7 separate regions of the Homo sapiens genome follow, and regions 2, 3, 4, 5, 6 and 7 are each linked to region 1. Evidence: promoter capture Hi-C in 16 types of primary human blood cells and fetal thymus (Javierre and others, 2016). All regions are on one chromosome and are shown on one strand. The core of a region is centred on a gene start or on the middle of the fragment in contact, and the rest is flanking DNA. Distances in the headings are between cores, read along the strand shown. Region 1 holds the start of ADAMTS1 (ADAM metallopeptidase with thrombospondin type 1 motif 1). Region 2 has its middle 60 kb from the start of HEMK2. Region 3 has its middle 110 kb from the start of HEMK2. Region 4 has its middle 160 kb from the start of HEMK2. Region 5 has its middle 170 kb from the start of LINC00161. Region 6 has its middle 150 kb from the start of LINC00161. Region 7 has its middle 120 kb from the start of LINC00161.

Evidence for each region. Contacts are between HindIII fragments. The CHiCAGO score rates a contact against its expected background, and 5 or more counts as called.
Region 2: a fragment that was not itself captured here is called in contact with the fragment with the promoter of ADAMTS1 in region 1 in 1 of 17 cell types (fetal thymus); the score reaches 5.7 in fetal thymus.
Region 3: a fragment that was not itself captured here is called in contact with the fragment with the promoter of ADAMTS1 in region 1 in 10 of 17 cell types (erythroblasts, total B cells, fetal thymus and 7 more); the score reaches 13.7 in erythroblasts.
Region 4: a contact is called between a fragment that was not itself captured here and the fragment with the promoter of ADAMTS1 in region 1, in 16 of 17 cell types (activated CD4 T cells, total B cells, megakaryocytes and 13 more). The highest score is 16.6, in activated CD4 T cells.
Region 5: a fragment that was not itself captured here is called in contact with the fragment with the promoter of ADAMTS1 in region 1 in 3 of 17 cell types (naive B cells, naive CD4 T cells and monocytes); the score reaches 7.0 in naive B cells.
Region 6: a contact is called between a fragment that was not itself captured here and the fragment with the promoter of ADAMTS1 in region 1, in 2 of 17 cell types (non-activated CD4 T cells and erythroblasts). The highest score is 6.0, in non-activated CD4 T cells.
Region 7: a fragment that was not itself captured here is called in contact with the fragment with the promoter of ADAMTS1 in region 1 in 3 of 17 cell types (total B cells, activated CD4 T cells and total CD4 T cells); the score reaches 6.7 in total B cells.

Annotation. Positions count from the first base shown.
Region 1 is chr21:26,843,736-26,847,096 of GRCh38, reverse strand. It overlaps ADAMTS1 (ADAM metallopeptidase with thrombospondin type 1 motif 1), which reads left to right and starts at 1,688. Exons shown (of 9, transcript NM_006988.5): 1 at 1,688-2,872. The coding sequence starts at 2,143. RefSeq lists enhancers at 304-903, 904-1,504. The HindIII fragment of the contact is 3,865 bases long and covers 1,095-3,361 here.
Region 2 is chr21:28,823,911-28,827,271 of GRCh38, reverse strand. It overlaps a transcript of HEMK2 not described here. Among named protein-coding and RNA genes, the nearest start is that of HEMK2, 60 kb to the left of the region's middle. The HindIII fragment of the contact is 3,338 bases long and covers 1-3,252 here.
Region 3 is chr21:28,775,305-28,778,665 of GRCh38, reverse strand. It overlaps a transcript of HEMK2 not described here. Among named protein-coding and RNA genes, the nearest start is that of HEMK2, 110 kb to the left of the region's middle. The HindIII fragment of the contact is 2,871 bases long and covers 290-3,160 here.
Region 4 is chr21:28,725,118-28,728,478 of GRCh38, reverse strand. It overlaps a transcript of HEMK2 not described here. Among named protein-coding and RNA genes, the nearest start is that of HEMK2, 160 kb to the left of the region's middle. The HindIII fragment of the contact is 4,683 bases long and covers 1-3,361 here.
Region 5 is chr21:28,706,058-28,709,418 of GRCh38, reverse strand. It overlaps a transcript of HEMK2 not described here. Among named protein-coding and RNA genes, the nearest start is that of LINC00161, 170 kb to the right of the region's middle. The HindIII fragment of the contact is 7,731 bases long and covers 1-3,361 here.
Region 6 is chr21:28,684,008-28,687,368 of GRCh38, reverse strand. It overlaps a transcript of HEMK2 not described here. Among named protein-coding and RNA genes, the nearest start is that of LINC00161, 150 kb to the right of the region's middle. The HindIII fragment of the contact is 3,700 bases long and covers 1-3,361 here.
Region 7 is chr21:28,656,876-28,660,236 of GRCh38, reverse strand. It overlaps a transcript of HEMK2 not described here. Among named protein-coding and RNA genes, the nearest start is that of LINC00161, 120 kb to the right of the region's middle. The HindIII fragment of the contact is 1,372 bases long and covers 1,034-2,405 here.

The sequences.
Region 1 (3,361 bases), core at 439-2,938:
GGCCTTGGTTGATTATTCAACGTTCAACGATGAGGGTGATTTTAGGAAACCAAAATTAAATCTACGAAACCACCCACTCCTAAATGTGTAGGGACTAGAGGTCGTTACTAAGCCCTTCAGAAGTAAGCTGAGTTGCTTCTCTCTGCCATTCTTGCTCATTTGATTTTTCCTGATGAGTGGAAAGCAATGTTTTTGTTTTTGTTTTTCAAGTAAGCAATCTCGCTAGGAAAAAAGAAGTTGGAAAGCATCCGGAAAAGAAAGCTTGTAAGAGGGACGTGTGGGAGAACTAGAAGGGACGCTTCTGGCTGGGGCCAACTGAAGTGGGGAAGATCTGGGGAGGAGCGAGGAAAGGACCCAGATCTACTTGGAGCCAACCAAGAGACCGGACGGGAGTGGGGCGGAAAGGCGGAGACCAGTTCGAGCACTAACGCGGGGGCGCGCGAGTGTGAGGGTTGCGGGTCCGCCCGGGGCTAGGGCGGTCGCTCTCGCCATTGTCCCCGCGGCTTTCCGCCTGTGAAACACGTCCTTCCTCTGGGTCCTTGAGCCCCTCCCACTTTTTGGAGAGAAGAGCCACTCAGTTTTTTTTCCTAAGGACCTGTTGGTGGACCTCTCCTCGCTTTCGTAACGCGGATATAGCCTTTTCCCTTCCTGGTAGGAAGAGGAAGGAGGGGTCCGGGAAGGAAGCCGATTTCCTTCTTTCCCCCTCTGCACGCTTGCTAGCCCCAGCGATCGCTGCTGGCCCCCGGGTAGGAAAGTGGGGTTCCTGGCCGTTTCTGCGACGCTGGCCTAGGGCTTGCAGCTGCTGTTGAGTGAAAGCACGCAGACTGGCGGGAGCCGATCATTTCTCGAATGAAGAAGAAAAAGCGCAATTCCCTCCTTATGCTCTAGGGAATTGAGCCGCGTCCCAGATCACCCATTCCAGAAATGTGAAACCGGGCCCTCACAAAGTCGTCTCTGGTGAAGAGGTGGCGTGCGGGGTGGGGGTTGGTGGAGGGTGAAGGCATAAGCAAACATATTTTAAAATCCAGATCGTAGGAAGTGTCACCTGGCCCCTCACCCAGGCATGCTTTCTGGGGGAAGCGCAGGGCCAAGCTTTCCCTAGAAAAGCTGGGGCGAAGAGAGAGCAGGCGGCGGCTAAGGAGCTCCTGGCAGGCTGGGAAGGTGGAGAAGTGGGGTGAGGTATTTTTCTAGAAAGTGTAGCCCTAGCTCATCTCCTAGATTGGGGAAGAGGGAACTGAGGGAGGAGGGAAGGAGACCCAGGGCAGCTCCAGGATAGGGAAATGTTGAAGAAGGGACTGCGTTCTCCAACCGAACCCTCCCTCCTGGGAACCGCAGCCCAGCGCGGTAACTGAGTTACCGCAACCGGGCGGTGGGGAGGAAGGGTGGTCCAGGAAACCGGCGAGGGAGAAAAGCGGTGGAAGGGAGAGTCTTCTCCCTGGAGCGGCCCCAGCAGTACAAAGTGCTGGTCACAGCGCCCCTTCCGCCCCTAGATTGACGAGCAGTGGCGTGGAGCCAGCGCGGAGGCTGCCCCCTCCCCCTCCCGAGCCCGCAGCGCGGAGCGCGGTTTAGCACCAACGGAGCCGGGGGCGGCGTCTTTGGGATGGAAAAGGGCCAAAGGGGAGGAGTGGGGTGGGGGTGGGGGTTTCACTGGTCCACTATAAAAGGACCGCTCGGCTGCCCGGTTCTTGCACTCGCTGGAAAGCGGCTCCGAGCCAGGGGCTATTGCAAAGCCAGGGTGCGCTACCGGACGGAGAGGGGAGAGCCCTGAGCAGAGTGAGCAACATCGCAGCCAAGGCGGAGGCCGAAGAGGGGCGCCAGGCACCAATCTCCGCGTTGCCTCAGCCCCGGAGGCGCCCCAGAGCGCTTCTTGTCCCAGCAGAGCCACTCTGCCTGCGCCTGCCTCTCAGTGTCTCCAACTTTGCGCTGGAAGAAAAACTTCCCGCGCGCCGGCAGAACTGCAGCGCCTCCTTTTAGTGACTCCGGGAGCTTCGGCTGTAGCCGGCTCTGCGCGCCCTTCCAACGAATAATAGAAATTGTTAATTTTAACAATCCAGAGCAGGCCAACGAGGCTTTGCTCTCCCGACCCGAACTAAAGGTCCCTCGCTCCGTGCGCTGCTACGAGCGGTGTCTCCTGGGGCTCCAATGCAGCGAGCTGTGCCCGAGGGGTTCGGAAGGCGCAAGCTGGGCAGCGACATGGGGAACGCGGAGCGGGCTCCGGGGTCTCGGAGCTTTGGGCCAGTACCCACGCTGCTGCTGCTCGCCGCGGCGCTACTGGCCGTGTCGGACGCACTCGGGCGCCCCTCCGAGGAGGACGAGGAGCTAGTGGTGCCGGAGCTGGAGCGCGCCCCGGGACACGGGACCACGCGCCTCCGCCTGCACGCCTTTGACCAGCAGCTGGATCTGGAGCTGCGGCCCGACAGCAGCTTTTTGGCGCCCGGCTTCACGCTCCAGAACGTGGGGCGCAAATCCGGGTCCGAGACGCCGCTTCCGGAAACCGACCTGGCGCACTGCTTCTACTCCGGCACCGTGAATGGCGATCCCAGCTCGGCTGCCGCCCTCAGCCTCTGCGAGGGCGTGCGCGGCGCCTTCTACCTGCTGGGGGAGGCGTATTTCATCCAGCCGCTGCCCGCCGCCAGCGAGCGCCTCGCCACCGCCGCCCCAGGGGAGAAGCCGCCGGCACCACTACAGTTCCACCTCCTGCGGCGGAATCGGCAGGGCGACGTCGGCGGCACGTGCGGGGTCGTGGACGACGAGCCCCGGCCGACTGGGAAAGCGGAGACCGAAGACGAGGACGAAGGGACTGAGGGCGAGGACGAAGGGGCTCAGTGGTCGCCGCAGGACCCGGCACTGCAAGGCGTAGGACAGCCCACAGGTAGAAGAATTGCTCTCGTTTGTCTGTCCATTCATCCTCCTCTCCTCACTTTATCTATCCCACGCGACTTCAGGGTAGACTCCTGCTGGCAGGCAGGATCATAAGTCCGCGGACAGAACGGAGGCCTGGAGTGGAGGAATGTGGTTTGAGGTTTGGATTGGTGAACTCAGCTAGAAAACATACTTGCATTTGCCCGAATAATGAATAACCAAGAAAAAAACTGACAAACGATTTTCTGCAAACTAAAGCAAAGCATTTAGGCCGGGGAGGGAGAGTTTGTAACCTGACTCCTTCCACCTTTAGCGAGTTGGAGCTTGTGCGAGTTCTTTCCACTCTGTGTATTTCTTTTTAATGATTTTGTGTGCGCCTTTTGTGCGGGTTGCAACGTTGCGCTGAGTTTTGTAACCGCTGCCTGTGCGTGCATCCTGCGCTCACGGGAGGGCGGATGTGGAGAGGGCAGAGGAGCAATGGTGACCTGGGAAGGTACCC
Region 2 (3,361 bases), core at 334-2,833, 2.0 Mb before region 1:
TGTGCTTCTCTGAGGTTGCATATATCCTTTTATTATAAAACGTCTTAGAGGTACTGCAATTACTTGTTAATTTGTCTGCTTGTTCTATTTGATTACAAATACCTATAAAGCAGTTCCATTAGACTTTGTAGCCTTTCTGCCTAGCATGGGGTCTGGCATTGAGATGGCACATCATAACTATCTGTTGAATGAAAGATTGAATGGATGGGCAAATTCCTGTTTCTTCTGGCATTTTCTCCCAGGTTATCTGGGAGATTTTCAATCTTCTCCACTCTGCTCTGAACTCCCACTTCAGCTCTGGGAGAGTCTCCTCGTCGGATCCCTCTGTTTCAGCCTACTTACTGGATGACATGGCTCATTCCAGAAGGACATAGGGTACTTGCATTTTGAAGATGCTGGTTATGCCAGGTTCTCCTTGATCATGAAGACTCAGCACATTGGGACACTCAATTCACTGCGGCTAAAGTTCATTATCATAGTGAATATTTTAAGTGTGATTGAGAAGATTATTTCTACATAAGCAGCATTTTGCAGGAGTTAGTTGCTGGGAGGATGGATTAGTTCAGTGTTTGCTTTCGGATTTTGTGATGGTTTAGGTACTTTCCCTGGTGATGATCCTTGTTACTGTTAAACGTTTTCTGTTATTATTTTTATACAGTCTGTGGATAACGTTAGTGAAGAACATCTTAAACATCTCTCATGATTAGTAGGCTGTGTTCCTGTCAATAGTGGCCCTCATGCTCCCCATTCTGGTGGAATATTAATATTTGGTTATGAAAGAGATTTGAAATAACTCTGGCATGCTGGGAATGACACTAAGGATCTTAGGTGAAATCCATATTCCCAACAGAGAGATTCTTTCCCCAGATTTAAATGTCCTTTAGTGTTTTAGTCATTTTGAACTGTGTGTTCATTCCACTTAGCTTATTTTTGTGTGTGAAGGAAACCAAAAGAACATGGGAGACTCTGCTAATATTTACAGATGGGTTTTAGTTCCCCTACTGATGTGTACTTATCAGGGCTCTTTAAGGCTATACTTACAATGAGATCTTAAGTGTGTGTGATGACTGTCAAAAGGCAGTGAGAGAGACTTCCATCTACGGGGTGTCTGGATGGTTCTGTTTGTGCTGAACTTTTCCACTTTCATGAGTTTAGAAAAGCTGCAGGCCTGAGGAGTCATTTAACGTGTTTTGCCCATTTAAAGCAAATGCATTTCAGCATTTATAGACAATATTTCTGGGTGCCCTTTTATCCTCTCTTGAAGGCTATAGGTTGCAATGAGCATCCTGGCTCTCTGCCTCGTTTTCCAGCTGGCTCCTCCTCTTCTCATGTGTGCTTTCTTTCCTTATGGCTGGAGCCAACTGACCCAGAGATGTAGGTGGATCTAGGCTGTAGTCTTCTAAGAGCACAATTAGGGTGACCAGATGTCTTAGGACTGAGGGGTTTCTAGGCCCTGCACTTTCAGTGCTGAAGTAGGGAAATTCCTGGGAAAACTAGAATAGTTGGTCACCCAACTTTTATGGTTGTCAGGGGATCTTTAAAATTCCTAATTCAGGAACTCCAGTGACTGACCATTAAGTCTGTGCTCCTCAATGATTGCTTACGCATTGAATTTTGCCTTGTTCCTAAGGCCAACACCACACCTTGCACCCACATCCAGTAGAAAGATCTTGGTCATACTTCTTTAAGATGGAGCTCCTGTTTTGTTTATCTGCCTAGTACTCCAGATCCTCTTAGCCTGGTCCTGCCATGTTAGCTCACATTTGCTCAGTGCTTTGAGTCCTGCCTTTGGTCCCTAGCTCATATCTCTGCCTAATGTGGCCTGCTAGCTCCCTAGTGCCAAGACATCACCTTCACACCTATTACTTATGCTCAGCTGAAAGTCTAGACTAGCACCTAGAGCAGTGGTTCTCAAGGCGTGATCCTGGGACCAACAGCATCAGCATTACATGGGAATGTGTTAGAAATGCAAATTCTAGGCCCCTCTCCAGACCTACTGAATCAGGAACTCTGGAGGTGGTGCCCAGCAATTTGTGTTCTAACAAGCCCTCCAGGGGGTTGTAATACACACTCAAGTTTGAGAGCCCCTTCCCTGGGTCATGCACTGTGCCTTCCCAGCTAGACTTCAAAGCCTGAAGCCAAGTCTGCCCACCTTCATGGATCTTTAGATTGTCCCACTCCCTGCCCATTGCTGGCCTGGCTGATCTTCCTAACTAACCTTAAACTCCCATTCCTGCATAGATCTTCAAAGCAGTGTTTATTTCCACTGCTGATAGGGACTGTCCAGGTTTGCCCAAGACGGGTTAACTGGGCACAGGACTTTCAGTACTAAAACTGAGAACATTCTGGGCAAACTGGGAGGGATTAAAAACCCTAACTGAGCAAGCCCATTAATACATTCAGTGATGTTGCCTTATGGAGACAGAAAAATGGAGAAATAGAAGGAGGATTATTGACCCTTTAGGATATTCCCTTCTTTATAATAACAACAACAAAAAAGCCAAGAGGAAGACTGTCCATTATGGAGTGTGGATGGACTACTTATTTGAATAATTTTTAGTATTGAATAGGCTACATTTCAACTAGGACTGTTCAAAGACTCTCTATCTCTCTCTCTCTTTTTTTATTTCTGGGAAGCAACTCCAGTGAAGTCAGAATTTTAGAATGAATTTGTTGTGTGATCTCAGGCGGAGTACTAATCTTTTGCTTTATCTATAATTGGAATACTAATACGTTTTTCTTCTAATTACATTACAGTAGATGAATTGAAGACAAATGAAATTATGTGCTATCTGTAAAAACTGTTTCTTGCATGGGTGCTATATAAATATGTAATTTTTAAAACAATAACAAACTCATACACACACACTTTTCAAAGAGAACATGAAGTCTTTTGCAAGATATGAGAGGAAATCAAAGGTAGTATCTGACCACTTCAGATAGGAGTGATTTCTTCCTGTCGTAAATTCTGATAGAACCTAAAGTCTAGAACCATGGTTCACAGCCTTGGATGCCCATTAGAGTTACATGTGGACTTAACAACGACAACAACAACAGCAGCAACAACAACAACAATGACTGATGCTCAGGCTCCCCCTTACCCCAGAGGGTCTGATTTAATTGGTCTGCTGTGGTACTAGGTCATTGGTGGTCTTAAATTCACTAGGTGATTCAAATGTGCAGCCAGGTTTGAGAATCCTGAGTCTAGAATAGTTCTCAAACATTACTCATAAGCATCATTTGGGAGAAGCTTATAAAAAAATGCAAATTTAGCCCCCTCCTCCAATCAAGTAGATCTGGGGTGGGATTCAGGAATCTGCTTAATACACAAGCTTACCTGAGGGTTCTGATGGAGATGATT
Region 3 (3,361 bases), core at 476-2,975, 1.9 Mb before region 1:
GAAAATGCAACTAGAAACTACAGTGAGATACTAGCACATACCTATCTGGATGGCTAAAATATGGTAATGAAACCTAATGCTGGCAAGGATGCAGAGAACCTTGACCACTTCTACATAGCTGGTGGGAATATAAAATGGGACAACCACTCTGAAGAAGTTTCGTAGTCTCTTACTTATAAAACTAACCTGCAATTGCCATAGGACCCAGCAGTTGCACTTTTGGACATTGGTTGCAGATATATTGAAACATGTTCATATAAAAACATGTTGATGAATGTGTATAAAAGCTTGGTTTGCCTTCAGCAAACGAATAGTTAAACCATGACACATCCATACCATGGAATACTACCCAGCAATAAAAAGAAATGGAAGACTCATACATTCGACAACTTGGATGAATCTCCAGGGAATTAGGCTGATAGAAAAAAGCCAACCCCTAAAGGTTAAATACTGTATGATCCCACTTATATAACATTTTGACAAAATTTTAGAATTGGAGGATAGCCTAATAGTTGCTGGGAGTGTACAAATGGGTGGGGTAAAGAGGTGAGTGTGGTTATATAAAAGCTGAGCCATTTCTCATTGTATACAAATTTCACAACATCATGTTGTCCACCATAAATATGTATATTTGTCAATTAAAAATGTAACACCAAAAAATTTATGACAATTCTTTTCTACTACTGAGAATGTTTTCAAGGGTAAACATTTATTTTTTAAAGTAAAGGTTCTCATGGGATTTTGGAAGACTTGCTTATAAGTAAATCTGTTATTTAAATTTAGGAAATTTTCTTTAGAACTTTATTGATGTCTCATAGATACAAATATCCCATTAACTTTGTTTAATAAATAAATGAATTCACTAGCTAGGCTTTGAAGATATCTCTGAAATCAAACACTGTTTGATGACCTTATCTTTAATCTTTTGGAGGACAAGAATGTTTTTTATTCTAACAACAAAGGTCCTTCATTTGTGACCAGATCTCCTCCTCTTGCCAAACGTGTTCTTTAATTCTGCTGTGACAGTTGCTGGTCTATCCTAAGCCATTTCATCCCCTTTTCCTTGAGGGCAGAGACTTGATTTCATCCTGGTGTCACCTTGTCATGAGTTCAGGGTAAGTGACAACCTCTCTGGACCCCAGAGAGTGAATTATGTTTGGGCTAAGGCAATCATGGTGGACTCATTTCCTTTGTAGACATTGATTTAGGGATGGGCATGTGACTACATCTAGCCAATAAGACCTGAGGAGAAGTCAATTTTGGGAGCTTCTGGAAACTTCCTTGCTAATAGCAATTGAGATACAGGAAGAAATTCACCTTCTCTTTGCTGGGTATTTTTGTGTCTGCAGTTGTTGGCTGATGCTGCCAATACCATGTTTGGACTGTAAAGAGGTCACATGACATTCTAAAGATGACAAAACTGAAATAGAGAAGGCACAAGGGTTCTTGATGATATTGCTTTGCTGCTTCATTGCCATATCATAAGCCTTCTTAGTGTTTGAACTACTTCAAATTGGATAGTCTGTGACTTGCATCAAAAACATTCTAATGGATTACTTAATGCTTAAGGAAAACTGAATGAACACATTTTAGTGAAAAACATGTTCAATAATACATAGAATAACCACTGTGATGGTTAATATTGAGTGTCAACTTGATTGGATTGAAGAATGAATAAAGTATTGTTCTGGGTGTGTCTGTGAGGGTGTTGCCAAAGGAGATTAACTTTTGAGTCAGTGGCCTGGGAGAGGCAGGCCCACCCTCAATCTGGGAGGGTACCATCTAATCAGCTGCCAGAGCAGCTAGGATAAAAGCAGGCAGAAGAACGTGGAAGGACTAGATTGCCTGAGTCTTCCAGCCTTCATCCTTCTCCCGTGCTGGATGCTTCCTGCCCTTGAACATTGGACTCCAAGTTCTTCAGCTTTTGGACTCTTGGACTTACACCAGTGGTTTGCCAGGGACTCTCAGGCCTTTAGCCACAGACTGAAGGCTGCACTGTCGGCTTCCCTACTTTTGAGGTTTTGGGACTCAGACTGGCTTCCTTCTCCTCAGCTTGCAGATGGCCCATTGTGGGACTTCACCTTGTGATCGTGTGAGTCAATACTCCTTAATAAACTCCCCTTCATATATACATCTATGCTATTAGTCCTGTTCCTCTAGAGACCCATGACTAATACAACCACAGTCCACAGCCTTTCTCCTACTCTCACCACACTTGCGTGGGCCTCTCTCAGAATAGGATTATACACAGCAGCCTACTAGTGGGGCAAGAATTTTTTGAATTGCACCTCATTCTGGGCTGGTGCAACTGATTCATCAGGCAGATAAGCCACTGGCTCTGTGGCATCCACTCTTAATGTTAAAAGATGTCTTGACTTCAGCTGGGTTGCCTATAGAAGGCACAAGAGATTCTTTCATGTTTTCTTCATGCTTCAAGTTTTGAGAAGAAATCCTAATTAGGGCTGCTTACCCTGTTCCCAGGCTTGAGGCATTGCCATTGAAACTCCCAGAAGTCTACAAATTCTTCTTGACGCTGCCTGTCTGCTAGACTTTTCTCCCCATTCCTTGAATTAAAAAGGGACCCATTCCCTTTAAGAACTTAAGGGGTTAAAACCTATAACTCCTCTGCAGGATCCTTTTCTGCCAATTTCTGTTAAAGGCCATTGCATATTTTGTCTTCCCTCTTTTTTTTTTACCCTCACCTCTCCAATTTCCACCACTCTACTGAATCCTTTCCAATGGCATTTTAACAGTCACGCCCATCTTAATAAAATCCTCCATTTACTTCACTTTGCTCTCTAATTTATTTTCTCTTAAATAACAACTTGAAAGGGTTGTGTACACTTAGTCTCCATTTTCTTCTCTCTCACTCACCATTTATTTAATCTTTTATAATCTGGCTTCAGTACCCATCACTCCACTGAAACAACTCATGTTATTGTCAACAATGACCTTTTAGGACCTTAAATTCAGGTACCTTTTACTGTCTTTCTTGTTGAACTTCTCAGAAGAATTTGACATTGTTGGGGGAAAAAAAGCATTATTTTTTGACTTCCATGGAGCCTCATTCTGGGTTTTTCTTCTGACACTTGGATAGTTCTCCCTTTGTCTCCTTTACATTCTTTCTATCAATCTATCATTCATGGCTATGGCTAAAGCTTACGATTTACATAGTGATACTTTTACACATGTGTGTATATTTCAATATTTTATGTACACACACACACACGTTTTAAATTCTCCTCAGCTCAAGACCTGTATATCCATTTCTTTTCTGGACTTTGTTTTCCTGAATGTTCTGCAGGCATCTCAGTCTCAACAAGTTCAAACTCTTGACTCATCATTTCTCCTCTTCCTTCAC
Region 4 (3,361 bases), core at 568-3,067, 1.9 Mb before region 1:
TCTGGGCAAACATAACCACTTGAATAGGAAAGAAAAGCACAGTTGATAAATTTCCCACCCTTTAGGGAGGCCCCATGATTTCTAATAACTCCTGATTTCTACTGCTCAGCCCTGTCAATTTCCTTTGGGCCTAGCCTGGTGATACACTCATTTTCATATCTGTATTAGATTATTTAGGGCAATCCAAAGTCATAGGTGATAATTATTAAAATGGAATTTTATTTTAGAGGACATTAAATACTTTTAATGTAGGATGATTATGGGATGTGTCTACATAGTTAATTTGTAAAGGCATGTCATTTTATTAGGGCACTGAATTAGTTTCCTATTGCCACTGTAGCAAATTACCACAAACTTAGAGTTTAAGACAACACAAATTTATTATTTTCTAGTTCTGGAGGTCCCAAGTCTGAAATGGGCCTCACTGGGCTAAAATTGCACCCTGCATTCCTTGGCTCATGGCCCTGAATCGCTCCAATCTCTGTTTCCATTGTCACATGTATTGCTATAATTAAATAGCAGCAGACTGCTTCAGATTATTATGTGTATGCATACACACACTTCATGAAAAACAGAAGCATTTTTAAAATGAGGGATATTGGCCCTATTTTTTTAATTGGGAACAGAAGAATTTATCAGTTTATTTCAAGCAAGCCCTCAGGCTTACTTGAATGAAACAGGTCTGGTCTGAATTGATTTTCTTCCCAAAGAAATCAGGCTTATAAACAAGTGGTCCTATTTGAACATCAAATTTACCTACGCATTGCAGGTTATCTAATAAGTCCATGCACAGGCATTTTTAACATCCCCACAAATTAATCTATTATATGCACTTCTTTTCTTCTCCAATAAATCTTAAATCTACAAACTAAAGGCCCAAATCAAATGATTGCACTTCATGAATTCTATAGCATCCATAATGGATGTGGCTCCTTTGTTATTTTGAGCACGCAGGGTGCAACTTTGAAAGGTTAGCTAATGTATTTTTTGTTGCTAGAAACTATTTGTCCTCTATCCTTCCCTCCTTTCCAGGCAGCTGCCTGGGCATTAGGTTTTACTAACTTCTCCTGAGGATGATGTAACCAAACCAAAGAGTTGATTCTTAGTTTTTGGGTTTCAAACGCTTGGGCTTTGAATTTCATAAGGCAAAACTAAGAAAGACTTTGGGACCATACAATTATTCCAAAGCCACTGAAGTGTATGTAAATGTGTGGGTGTCCTGGGGATGCATCTCCTTCCCAAGGGAATACGTGGGGACTGAGACAGTGTCAACAAAATCAACCTCCAGATCCTCAAATCCCCTATATTTGCTTTTCTCAGACTCATCTCTCCATAGGCACCCTTATGACTTGCAGAGTTTCTTGCTTATTTTTTCTCCCCACACTTGCCCTTTTCATGTTCCTACTTCCATCCTTTGATTCACTCCTTATCTTGCTATGGTGGAAAAACCCAAGCAAAGGGACCCTGTGAACTAGTACTGATATTGAGAAAACTAATTGATCTGATAACTGGGGACCACATTCTTTTACAATGATTTTTTATTCTTTGCTCAGAATAAAGTTTGAAAACCTACTTAGGATATTCTAAATAATTTTTTTTTTTTTTTTTTAGATAGGGTCCTACTCTGTTGCCCAGGCTGGACTGCAGTGGTGCAAGGATTCTCATGCCTCATCCTCCCAAGTAGCTGGGATTACAGGCACCCACCACCACTCCCGGCTAATTTTTGTATTTTTAGTAGAGATGGGGTTTTGACATGTTGGCCAGGCTGGTCTCGAACTCCTGACCTCAAGTGATCCACAGGCCTTGGCCTCCCAAAGTGCTGGGATTACGGGCATGAGCCACTGTGCCTGGCCTGAAAATAATCTTTGACGGTAGACTACTATGCTATGTTTAGGATGTAACTCTAAAAAATCTCAAAGAAGTGAAAGACACTGCTATAATAAAATCGATTCTATTTTCAACTACTTAAATAAATTCTTTTTGGACAAGTCTTTTCAGTGCTATTTTTTAAACAAAGAACAACATTGATATTAACCTCTGTCTCATTCTATTGATAAATAGTATTCATTCATGGAGAGATTAACTAATTAGAAAAATCAGACCAGTCCCGCCCATTTCATTGAGATGATTTTCCATTAAAATTTAAATTTTTAAGTTTATTTATTAATATTTAAAATATATTTGTATTGTTTTGATCAGTTGTGAACTAAGTAAAACATAGTATGGTAATTCCCCAAATAAAACTTAAAAATATACATTTGAACCTATATAGTCAAAGGACCTTTTTTAAAAAATGTTAATTTATACCCTTTTCTGTGGTGAATTATGTTAATAATTAGTTAAATTCTTATTTAGTTAAATTTAGTTAAATTATTTCAAGTATATTATTGTATTAGAATAAAGTTCTGTGGGGAAAATGGAATGGAAATATGACTTTAAGGAACATTATAAAACAAGATAAGCATGTACATTTATATCGTTAAGTGAACAGTGATGAGTATCCCATTTCTTTGGAATTTAAATTCCACTGGAAACATTTGAAGGATCTGAGTAACAATTTTATTTTAGACTTTCAATATTTACAATTTACTGGAAGTCACTTTTAGCAACTACTTAAACTGATGACCAAGAAAGCCTATAGATGTCAACCTAATAATGTGCTAGGGGGTACAATGTCTTTTGAAATTATTTTAGGGAATAGATGAGTAAAAATAGACAAATTGAAGACCAAATTATAAAAATCATCCAGAATTATTTAAAAGCAAGACTTGAAATGAGATTGAGAATCTGGACTGCGGATGGCAGAGAGCATTGCTTCTGACAGTAACTGGGGTCTGAGTCAGGACATGATAGAACTTGCAGAGTTCAGTCTGAGAGTTGGCAGCACCTAAGCCCTCACTCTTGTCTGGTATCCCTGGAAAGCTGTTGATGTGTGGTTAGGAGAAGGCTAAGGGGGAGAAATGCCTGAGATTTCATCAAGTTCCCTCCATGTGTTTCCTCCCAGTATTCACTCTGAGTTTGCAGCTCAGTTGTCTGCAGTGATTACCTGTCTCATGAATGTATCCCTTTTAGTTTACCTCCCTTCCTAGTCTCACTTTCTCCATTGCCCTACCTGTGCTTTCTGAGGTTATCTCCCAAATAAACTACCTGCACCCAGCTTCTATCTCAGAATCTGTATTTGGGGGACATCAAAACCAAGAGATGTGCCATAAGTCACTTACTTACATGGAATAGATTTAATTTCAATACAATTTAGCATGCATTTATTGGGTGCATGCTAGGTTGGCTCTAGGGACACCCAACAACATTGATTGACTTATTAATCAGGATGGAAGTCAGGACTATCAGCTGGTCCTCTGTA
Region 5 (3,361 bases), core at 346-2,845, 1.9 Mb before region 1:
TTCATGACTTTACCCTAAGCCCTTCCTGAATCTACTTATATTTTAAATTTGTGCCACTCCTGGGTTCCACAATGGAAGGTAATTTGAGAATTCTCAGATTTGATAAACAACTCTAAATTTGCCTCCATATTAACTCTGTATTCTACATATACCTTTTGTGATTTCAAAGACTTTGCAATGGACAGAATGTTTGTGTGCCTTCAAAATTCATGAGTTGAAATCCTAATCCCCAGTGTGATGGTATTAGGACAATGAAGGCCTTTGGGTGGCGATTAGGTCACTAGGGTGGAGCCCTCATAAGTGGGATTAGTGCCCTTATAGAAGGGACCCCAAAGAACTCCCCAGCTCTTTTCACCATGTGAGGATAGAACAAGTTGATGACAGTCTGCAACCTGGAAGAAGGCCCTCACCAGGACCAGACCATACTGTCACCCTGACTTCCAGCCTCCAGGATACTGAGAACTAAGTTGTTTATAAGCCACTCTGTCTTTGGTATTTTGTTATAGCTACCTGAACTAAGACAGTCTTCATTTACACATATAACCTTTCCTTTTTTTAATCTCTCATTTTTGAGAAACCACTCCATTCTTTTAAGCATTTTAGTTAATCTTCTTGGATTTCATCCAGTTTGGCTATGCCTTTATAGAGGTCACAGTTGCTCACAGTGTTCTAGGTATGGTATGAATCCGTTTTGAATAAAGAATGACAGACTTGTATGATTTACTTTTAACACCCTTTTTTGCTATTACCTAGCATTATTTTTGTTAATAGCTTTCCTAAGGACAAATATCTTTCAAACCACACCATAATACTTTCTATTTTTCCTTGGTCATAACCATTGTTGACAACTGTCATAGCTATCCTTCTGTACATATGCTTGGAATTAATTGTTGTACCTGTTTAACCTGTGCCCACATGATATCTTATTTGCCATTTCCTTTCATCCCTGGGATTATAACCATACCCTGGGGATTGTGATCCAAGAACAACTTAATGGAAATTGTAAGATAAATTATAATCATTTACTACATAAGCATGAATAACATAATGAGTGGAAGAAGACAAAGAATACTCTTTGGCAGGAGGCAAAAAAGGATTAATAGTAGGAGAAACCAGTAAAAATAAAACCTGATTTTCAAAAGATCTTTAAGTTTCCACATGTAAGTTTCATATGGTAGAACAGTTTTTTTTTTTGACTACATTAAAGTTCCTCATTTTATTTAAACCATAAAAACATTGTGTCAAGAAGATATTAACATGCATTAATGTTATTTAAACATGATTAAAAATCATGGAATCTGGAATTTTGAAAATATGGGTCCTGAAAACTTTTGGCCATGGGCTTGTTTTTAAAGTAATTGCTTTTTTCACCCATGCTTCCCAATTAGCAGCAGATCCAGCAATCTGGAATCCTCCTAGCCAAGTTCACACCGATCATCTCAGGCTTGTTCTTTGCTCCCACTTTTGTTTTCATCATTTGCTGCATTCTATAACTATATTCAGCTTCTGGTCCTTTATTTTTTAAAACAATATTTAATTGACAATAAAGATTGTATATATTCAAGGTGTACAGTGTGATGATTTGATATACATATACCCTTTGTTTTTATTTCTTTTCTGTCTAAATCCACTCCCACCCAATTCATTATTGACATTAATGAATACATTTGACTTATTCTCGGTAACCCTCAGCTTTATGTAGGGATACAGTGTGTGTGTGTTTATATATATATATAGTAGGATAGTTTATTGAGAAGAGCATTTTAACTAAATGTAGTAGAAAAACTATTTACAAGCAGGCAATTCTCTGGTGAGTCTAGCTGCCTTCTACTAGGGTGTATGTTAAAGAGATAAAAATATTTACATCGAGTGTGGTGGCTCATGCCTGTAATAACAGAACTTTGGGAGGCCGAGGCAGGTGGATTACTTGAGGCAAGGAGTTCGAGACCAGCCTGGCCAACATGGTGAAATCCCGTCTATACAAAAAATACAAAAATTAGCCCAGTCTGGTGGCGCATGCTTGTAACTCCAGCTACTTGGGAGGCTGAGGTGGGAGGATCACTTGAATGGGGGACGCGGAGGTTGCAGTGAGCTGAGATCATGCCACCGTACTCCACACTGGGTGACAGAGTGAGACTTCATCTCAAAAAAAAAAAAAAAAATTAAAATTGTGCAACTCTTCTAAGTTTTGTGATTTGGAAAATATAGTAAATTTTCATTAAGATGTTGTTTGTGCTAACCTTTAATGTGTTTATTGTCGTTTTAAAACTAATAAATATTTAAACATTCTCAATGTAATTTTCTAATATTAGAAATATCAGTACACACAATCCACATGAACTTTGAGGCCCTTCACTTTTGAGAGTGTAAAGGGATGTTGAGGCCAGAAAGTTTGAGAACTGCTAGACTTTAGAGAATCCAAATGTCATTTCCACCTTCTTTGTGTACATTAAGTATTTACTTTTTCAAAGGGTCCATTACATTTCATTCACCAGAGTATATTTATCTGAGAGCATAGAGCAGTTTCCTACTGACTGGGAGTTTCAAAAGTAGAGCACAGTACATAGAACAATAAGGAAATACAGTAGCAGAGAATACAGCTACCAAGAATAATGCTAATTTCAGTTTTTTTGTGGTTCAGAGTGAGTATCTGAAATTCCATATTTAGCCTCCAAATAATAATTTTATAAACTGGGCTTATTTTATAGTCTTGAAAGTACAAGCGTTGCTTTTTCTGCAGTGATAACGTTCATGAAGGGAAAAGAAAACTGCAAAATCAGGAAAAGTCATTTAATTTTTAAAAAGTTTAGGAAATTCTGTGCTTTAAAAGATGAGTTAAAGAGAAGCCTCAATATTTCAGGTAGAGAAAACTGAAGAGGTAAAGAAATTAAGTTTATGAAACTAGCTCATTTTTTCTGTTTCCAAGATGAGTAAAGATACTGCAAGAGTCACCTCATGGCCATATTTTACACACACTCCCCTTCTAACTACATGTGAAATAAGACATGAATGACATTTGATTGAGGCCCGATAAGGACCATAAATTTCTCAGAAAATATAACTAGGATGTTATAGAGTCGTTAAATAATCCTTCAATGTAACCAAACCATTGTGGAACAGATGAAATGAATTTGTAGTTGCAACTGTCTACTTCTGAATGCTCAAAGATATACACTAACAAAATCTTTAGATGAAAACAGAGGAGATTTAGAGACAGGTTTGAGATTTCTTACGAGAACTTAGAGTTACGTCAAATATAGAACAATTAACCTGTGACTTTGTCCGTGTAGAATGAGGCACTGATAGGTGGTGTGGTAGGTAGAATAATGACCACTTCAAAGATGTCTACATCCTAATTCTT
Region 6 (3,361 bases), core at 359-2,858, 1.8 Mb before region 1:
ATTTATTTTCTAGACGAGGAAAATGAGGTCCAAAGAGACGGTGTGTCCAAGGTGGGTGCCCTAAAATCAGAATCCAGGGGTCCTAGCCCCAGGTGCAGTATGTTTGCCATTGCCATGGTTCAGCTTTGTATAAGACATGTATTACAATCTCTGTAATTTACTTTAAAGTACATACAGCATGAGCAAACTTTAGCTAAGGCATTAACTTTATATGTGGCCAGATAGAATGCTAGCAGGGCAGCACAGTTCAGATGTGGCAGGGGGTATAATGTGAGAGGGGCCCACTGTGGAAACAGCTGCTACATGCCCTTTATTATATCCTTTTGTTCAACCTCTGATACTCTATGAACTAGCATATCAATTCCAAATTTGGGTTTCCATTGCTGAATCTAGTGTTTGTTGATTAGCCTGATGGATGTTAGAAATAGGCTTTGGCTCTCACTGATGAAATTAAACATATTTTGAACATATGGATTGGCTAAAATAGTTCAGAGTCTCTCCATCCTTTTTAAAAAGAGTATAAAAATGCACGAAGGCCTGACCTGATATTTTTAAGGATGACAGTCATGGTTTGATTCCCTTCAATCCAGATGTTGACTTAGGAGAATTTCTGACTGCATGGTGCTGTGTAAGCACAGAATCCTGCCTTGGAAATCTCACAGTGTCTATTTCAACTGAATGTTTCATCCCTGGGCCACCTAAAAAGCGTTCATCCAGCACACAGAACAAATAGTATAAACTCTTTTATGCTTTCTTGCTAATGAATAGTTGCTACTACATGTCTGTCTATATAAAGAAATTTATGCTGAGATTTGTTTTTATTAAAACCTAATGGTGGCCAGGTGTGGTGGCTCACTCCTGTAATTGCAGCACTTTGGGAGGCTGAGGTGGGAGGATCACGAGGTCAGGAGTTCGAGACCAGCCTGGCCAACACAGTGAAACCCCATGTCTACTAAAAATACAAAAATTAGCCGGGCACAGTGGTGGGTGCCAGTAATCCCAGCTACTTGGGAGGCTGAGGCAGGAGAGTCGCTTGAACCTGGGAGGCAGAGGTTGTGGTGAGCTGAGATTGCGCCATTGCACTCCAGCCTGGGCAACAAGAGCACAACGCCATCTCAAAAAACAAACAGCAACAACAACAACAACAAAAACAAAAAAACAAAAAACAAAAAACCTAATGGTGAGGTGTGGGAGAGTAGTAAATTTTCACTATAACAGATTCTCTCCTTCACCAAACTCTAGCCAGGCTCTTTGGAGCCCTCTTCTTGACTAGGCCTCAGCCTGGCATATAAAGACTTGAACACTCACTAATATAGTTTCTAATAGCTCAAAGTAGTGTTCCTAAGAATGACCCTAGACCCACATATAAAATGCTTGCCTGAGAACACTCAAGGCTGTCACAAGGATGTACTGTTTGTTTCAGCCAACACCTGAATACAGGGACCCTGTCTCCCAGCCTCTGTGGGAGGGAAGGAGCCTAACTCTGATAAGCTCCAGTTAGCAAAGTTGTGTGGATTTTACATGAACCAATTCCCTGTTTCTGTTTTTTTTGTAATTTTTTACTTCCCTGACTCTAATACCTGCCCCCTCCCTACTCTCTCATTCTCCCTTTAAAACAACAGTCACCTCCCTCCAAATTGAAGCTGAGTTCAGTTTATACAGAACATGTTTCCTTATTGCAATAGTACATTACTGATGAAAATCTGTCCTTACCTCTTTAGCATCCGGCTTTGTTTATTCTTGACACCATTTCAACCTTTTTGGTGACCACTAGAAATCTAAGTGTGCATAACCAAACTGGCTTCTGTAAGTTTGCAACGATGGGCTTTGTTTTGGTTTGAGAGTCAGTGGGGTCTTAAATCTTCTGCTTTCTTAATATATTTTTCCTTTTCCACTTTACCACAGCCTTTAGCTAAAGTTTAAAAAAGAGGGAGTCATCACTGTGGCTCTTTGTGACTTTCTGATGAAAGTCTTGCTGTTCTTCAACTTCAACTTCCTGTCCTTTCTGGTATACTGGCTTTTGGGACATAAAGGCTCATGATCAGTTGAAAAGATGAAATACATATCATAGTGTATTGTACAAAATAATGCCAACAATTTAAAATAGTGAAAAAGACTTAAAAAAGGAAAATCTAACATATGGAAAACATATGGCAAGGCAATTGCATAGAGGTAGCCCCTAAGAGCTGACTTTTATGATCACTAACTATATTCTGAAGTCTTGCATCCTGAGATACTTCACATGAACCGATTCCCTATTTCTGTTTTTTGTAGGTTTTTTTTACTTCCCTGACTCTAATACCTGCCCCCTCCCAACTCTCTCATTCTCCCTTTAAAACACCAGTCACCTCTCCACAAATTGAAGTTGACTTCGGTTCATGCAGAACTCATTTCCCTATTGCAATAGTACATTACTGATGAAAATCTGTCTTTACCTCTTTAACTAGTGTCTGACTTTGTTTACTTTTTACACCATTTAAATCTTTTTGGTGGCCACTAGAAATCTAAGTGTGCATAACCATTCCTTGTAGAATAGAGCTGATCTCACAGGTACTTGGTCATCAAGGTGAGGAAGGGCAGTTGGATGTTCGACCCAGGAGCTTGGAGCTCAAGTGAGCCCATGGTCCACTGGAGTTCCCAAGTACTATGGGTGGGATTGTGCATCCCCCATTCACGTGTTGATGTCAGGTTTGGATCATAATTCTGAAAGACACAATCCTGAATGCCGTAATCTCAAATGATGAAATCCCAAATGATGAAAATCCCTGCAGTATAATATCCCTTATGTCTAAAATGATGAAAGTCACAGTCACAGGATGGTTGCATCATGTCAGGTTGAACTATTACCTTGTAGTCTTTATGCAGAAGGAAATGGATTTCAATTGAATTCCCAAACCGTAATGACAGACTCGAAATTAGGTGTCATAAAGGATTATAAAAGTGAATTTCAAGGTATTACTAATGAAGTTTGTTTTTCCGTTTAGCCTAGTGCATTTGGAGGGAAATTCAGATGGATGAATTGGTCCAGTGAAAACTTCAGTTTAAAAAATGTGTCATTTGCCTGCATTGACATTCCTTCCTAGCTGACAACATTCCAGATTTTAAAGAATTAAAGCTGCATTTGGCTGAAGAAGCCAGAGAAGTTACTTAGTGTTTGAGAATAATTATGTGCACGGTAGGATAAGGAAACACACAATGGTGTTGCTGTTGAATCACCAGTATTGTTTCTGCCAAATTTGTGGTCTGCATATAGGTGCATGTGGAATGGATTTCTGAGTATCCAAAACAACATATAAGCATAGCACAGAAGATGGGAGAGTTTAATAGTTTAAGATGGGAATGCTTATGTTGGTGTCTATTG
Region 7 (3,361 bases), core at 470-2,969, 1.8 Mb before region 1:
ATGATATTAAGTTTTAGGTAGAAAAATCCAAAAATTAAGTGATAAATTATGAGAATTGATTTGTGAGTTTAGCAAAGTCATTGTATTTCAGCTTGATCAGTTTTATTTTACACTCTAGAAAAAAACAAATGAAAGATTAAAAGTTAAAAATAATACCATGAACAATAATATAAAAATACTGAATACCAGGAATAAGTCTATTAAAAGTTGTGCAAAACCTCTATACAGAAAACTACAACACATTATTGAGAAAAATTTAAAAAGGATCTAATAAATAGAAAGCTATAATCTCTTCAGTATTTCAATTCTCCCCAAATTGATTTAGGTTCAGTGCCATCCCAATAAAAATTCTAGCACTTTTTTATGTGCTTGCACATATGTATGTGTAACTATATTGTTAGGATAATTCTAAAATTTGTGTGAAAGGCAAGAGACCAAAGATAGCCCAGGCAATACTGAAGATGAATAACTAGGTTAGAGGACTTACCTTATCTGATATGGAGATATTTGGTTAGTGGATTGTGGAAAATAATGGTATCCTTTGGGCTAAGCATGAGATGTCTCATTACCTATTTCTCTTTTGTTAGAAGTATACCCCAAATCTTCAAGTCTAACCCATTTTAATTTTTCATTATATTGCAATGTTGAGTCCAGGGTATATGAATATGGAAGGGAATTTCATACTCAAATAGTTCTCTTTGGTTTCTACCTTTCCTCTTGAACAGAAAATGTGGCAATGAGCTTCTTCACTTCTTTTGGCACTTTTAAAATGCCTGGGATGAAGATAAAGGTGCTGAAAAATGAGAAATGGGCAAATGCTGCTAAAATGGTTATCAAAATTCTGAACTGATAAAAATATTTTGATACAGATTGAGGAACTTGATTGTCCATTTGGAACAAAATGCTCTAACAGGTTAATTAGAAGGTATCTTTTGAACTCTTTGAGAAAGCTGAAGCGCTTGCAGTGGGTTATTATTAAATCATGTAGAACAAGGCTTTTCAAATTTTCCAAATTTCTTTATTGAATAAAGCTTCTAGGCTGATTGATTAGGAAAATGTATATCAGAAACTAGTTTATCAGACAGATATGGAGAGAATATCTTTGTGGACAAAAAGAAAAATGTCAGGATGATAATGTATTCAGGAGAATTTGTAAAGTTTTGACTGATAGTTTGTATCTAAGAAAAGCAATCAATATTTTTGACAGTCAGGAAGTAGCTGGTTACATGCAGCAAATGTTTGAGATTATACCTACTCAACACTGTTGGTGGCCATAGGAAACAAATAGTTAACATGGACTTTGGAACTTTAGCTAATATATTGGAGGGCAGAATCGAGATCAGACGCAGGTAAAATAAGTGACCAGGTTTAACAAGATGAAATGTAATAGCAATTAACGTAAAGTGCTACAATGAATCTAAAGATTCAGCATATGCAGCAGACAAGATGTGCCTTAACATTAATTTACATGAAAAGGACAAGAGGTTTTTTGTCAGTCATGAGCTTGGGACAAGTCAACGATATAATACGATTTCTTAAAGTCTAATTGAATCTTAGGCAAATAGCTCATATGAGATTGGTAAATATGACATTAAAATCATGCCAGTGTAACATGGAAGCTGTATTTGTTTACATGTCATTTGTTTTTAGTCAAAAGGAGTCAGAATAGCAGGACCAGATTACAACCTCCTGCAGGCAGAACAAAGGTCTTCAACATGGCAATTGCACAGGCAGAAGACCTTTCAGCTCTATTTTAGGGCAATTTAAAATGGGCACCTAGGCTTCATCTTAACTTGAAGTGGGTTGTATTTATTCCTCTGCTACCTCATCAGGAGCCCCACTGAATCAGAATTCTGTTCTATGCATTTTCTTAGGGCCCTCAAGCCAACTTTCCCACTCTATTGGTTTCGGGCATTTTTAATATCCTTTGAAGTAGCCTCTAACCAAACTGAGCTACTGGAACTCTAGAGGCTCCAGTTATTCTTTTATTAGTATCCTAGTTACAAAATTGTTTGGGTTTTGGATGGTAGGACTTTAATGTTGTTTCTCTTTTAGGTCCTATTATTTTGGTGTTAGAGCCAAATACCATACAGAGATTAGTTGAGATCTGTCCCTACAACCTATATTTGACATGCACACTTGAGTTTTGGAGTCATAAACATAATTTCAAGCATCCCACAACTTCTAGGATTTCTGCACACATACCAAGAAATGGCTTGTCTTAATTCACAGAACTACCATTCAAGAAGTCCATGTCCCCATTTATTCAAAATTTGAGGTATTTTAAGAATTAATTTTATTCCTTTGCATTTTTTCTTTTTGCCTTTTTCCTCTCAATATCCATGTTATACAGTTAATAGCCCTAGGGTAAAGAGCTGTTTCAATCCAAGTCTATCTAGGAAGCTTGGCCCAAGATACCATTATTTATGGTTAGAAAAGATCATTGTTGTGCTAAGTTATTTTTCCTGGTTGGCAGCCTTAAAGGTTTGGGTTGCTGGCTGCTTTTTGGGGATTATATCATAAGTATGGATGAGTTGAAGTACAAACATTTAAAAAACTCCAGTATTCTTTGTCCAAACAAAAGAATAACCTTCCAAGTTATGAGGATATGAATCTCAAGTGTTCTGACTTCCAGAGGTTTTTTTGTTTTGTCTTTTCTCTGCAGTTACAATTTTCATGGTGTTGTTGTAGTCTGCCAATGTCAACCAATTTGTGTTTTCTGGTAGGATAATTGAGTTGAGATTTTTCTCCTTTGACATGAAGTCAGAATATTAAAGTTACAAACTCATGGGTTAGATCTTTGTAGAAGTGAAAGCTAATTCCTCTCTGAAGTCACTCTTGGCATAATTTAGGTAAATAGGACTGCTGTCCTTTTGGATAAACAGTAAATTTTCTATTATTTAGGAGCTGATCAGGTAACTTGTATATAATTCAGTTCTTTGACCTTCCTTTTTCTTAGGGTTTGCTGCTACCTCTTGACTGTTCAATCACTTTTCTGTATCTTTATGCAGATCTGTTTAACCTAAGCAGGATCAAGAAATTGGTCATTTAAATTAGGAAATTTCAGCTGATGTTTGTTTTAGGAAGTTTTTACAATAGAAAAACATACATAGTTGTGTATGAAAACCGTTTAATATAATGTTGAGAAAACATGAATGTAATATGCTGCATGACAAAAAATGATCAGCAAGAAATGTTACTCTATCCATGCCACTTAAAATAGATATTGATAAAGGCTAATTACTTGTTGAGCACTTACTATGAAACAGAATTGTCACAAATATTATTGTAAATGTTTACAGTAGTCTTAGAAGGTAGGTGTTTTTCATTTTTCTCTTGAAGAAATGAAGGATCAGAGAGT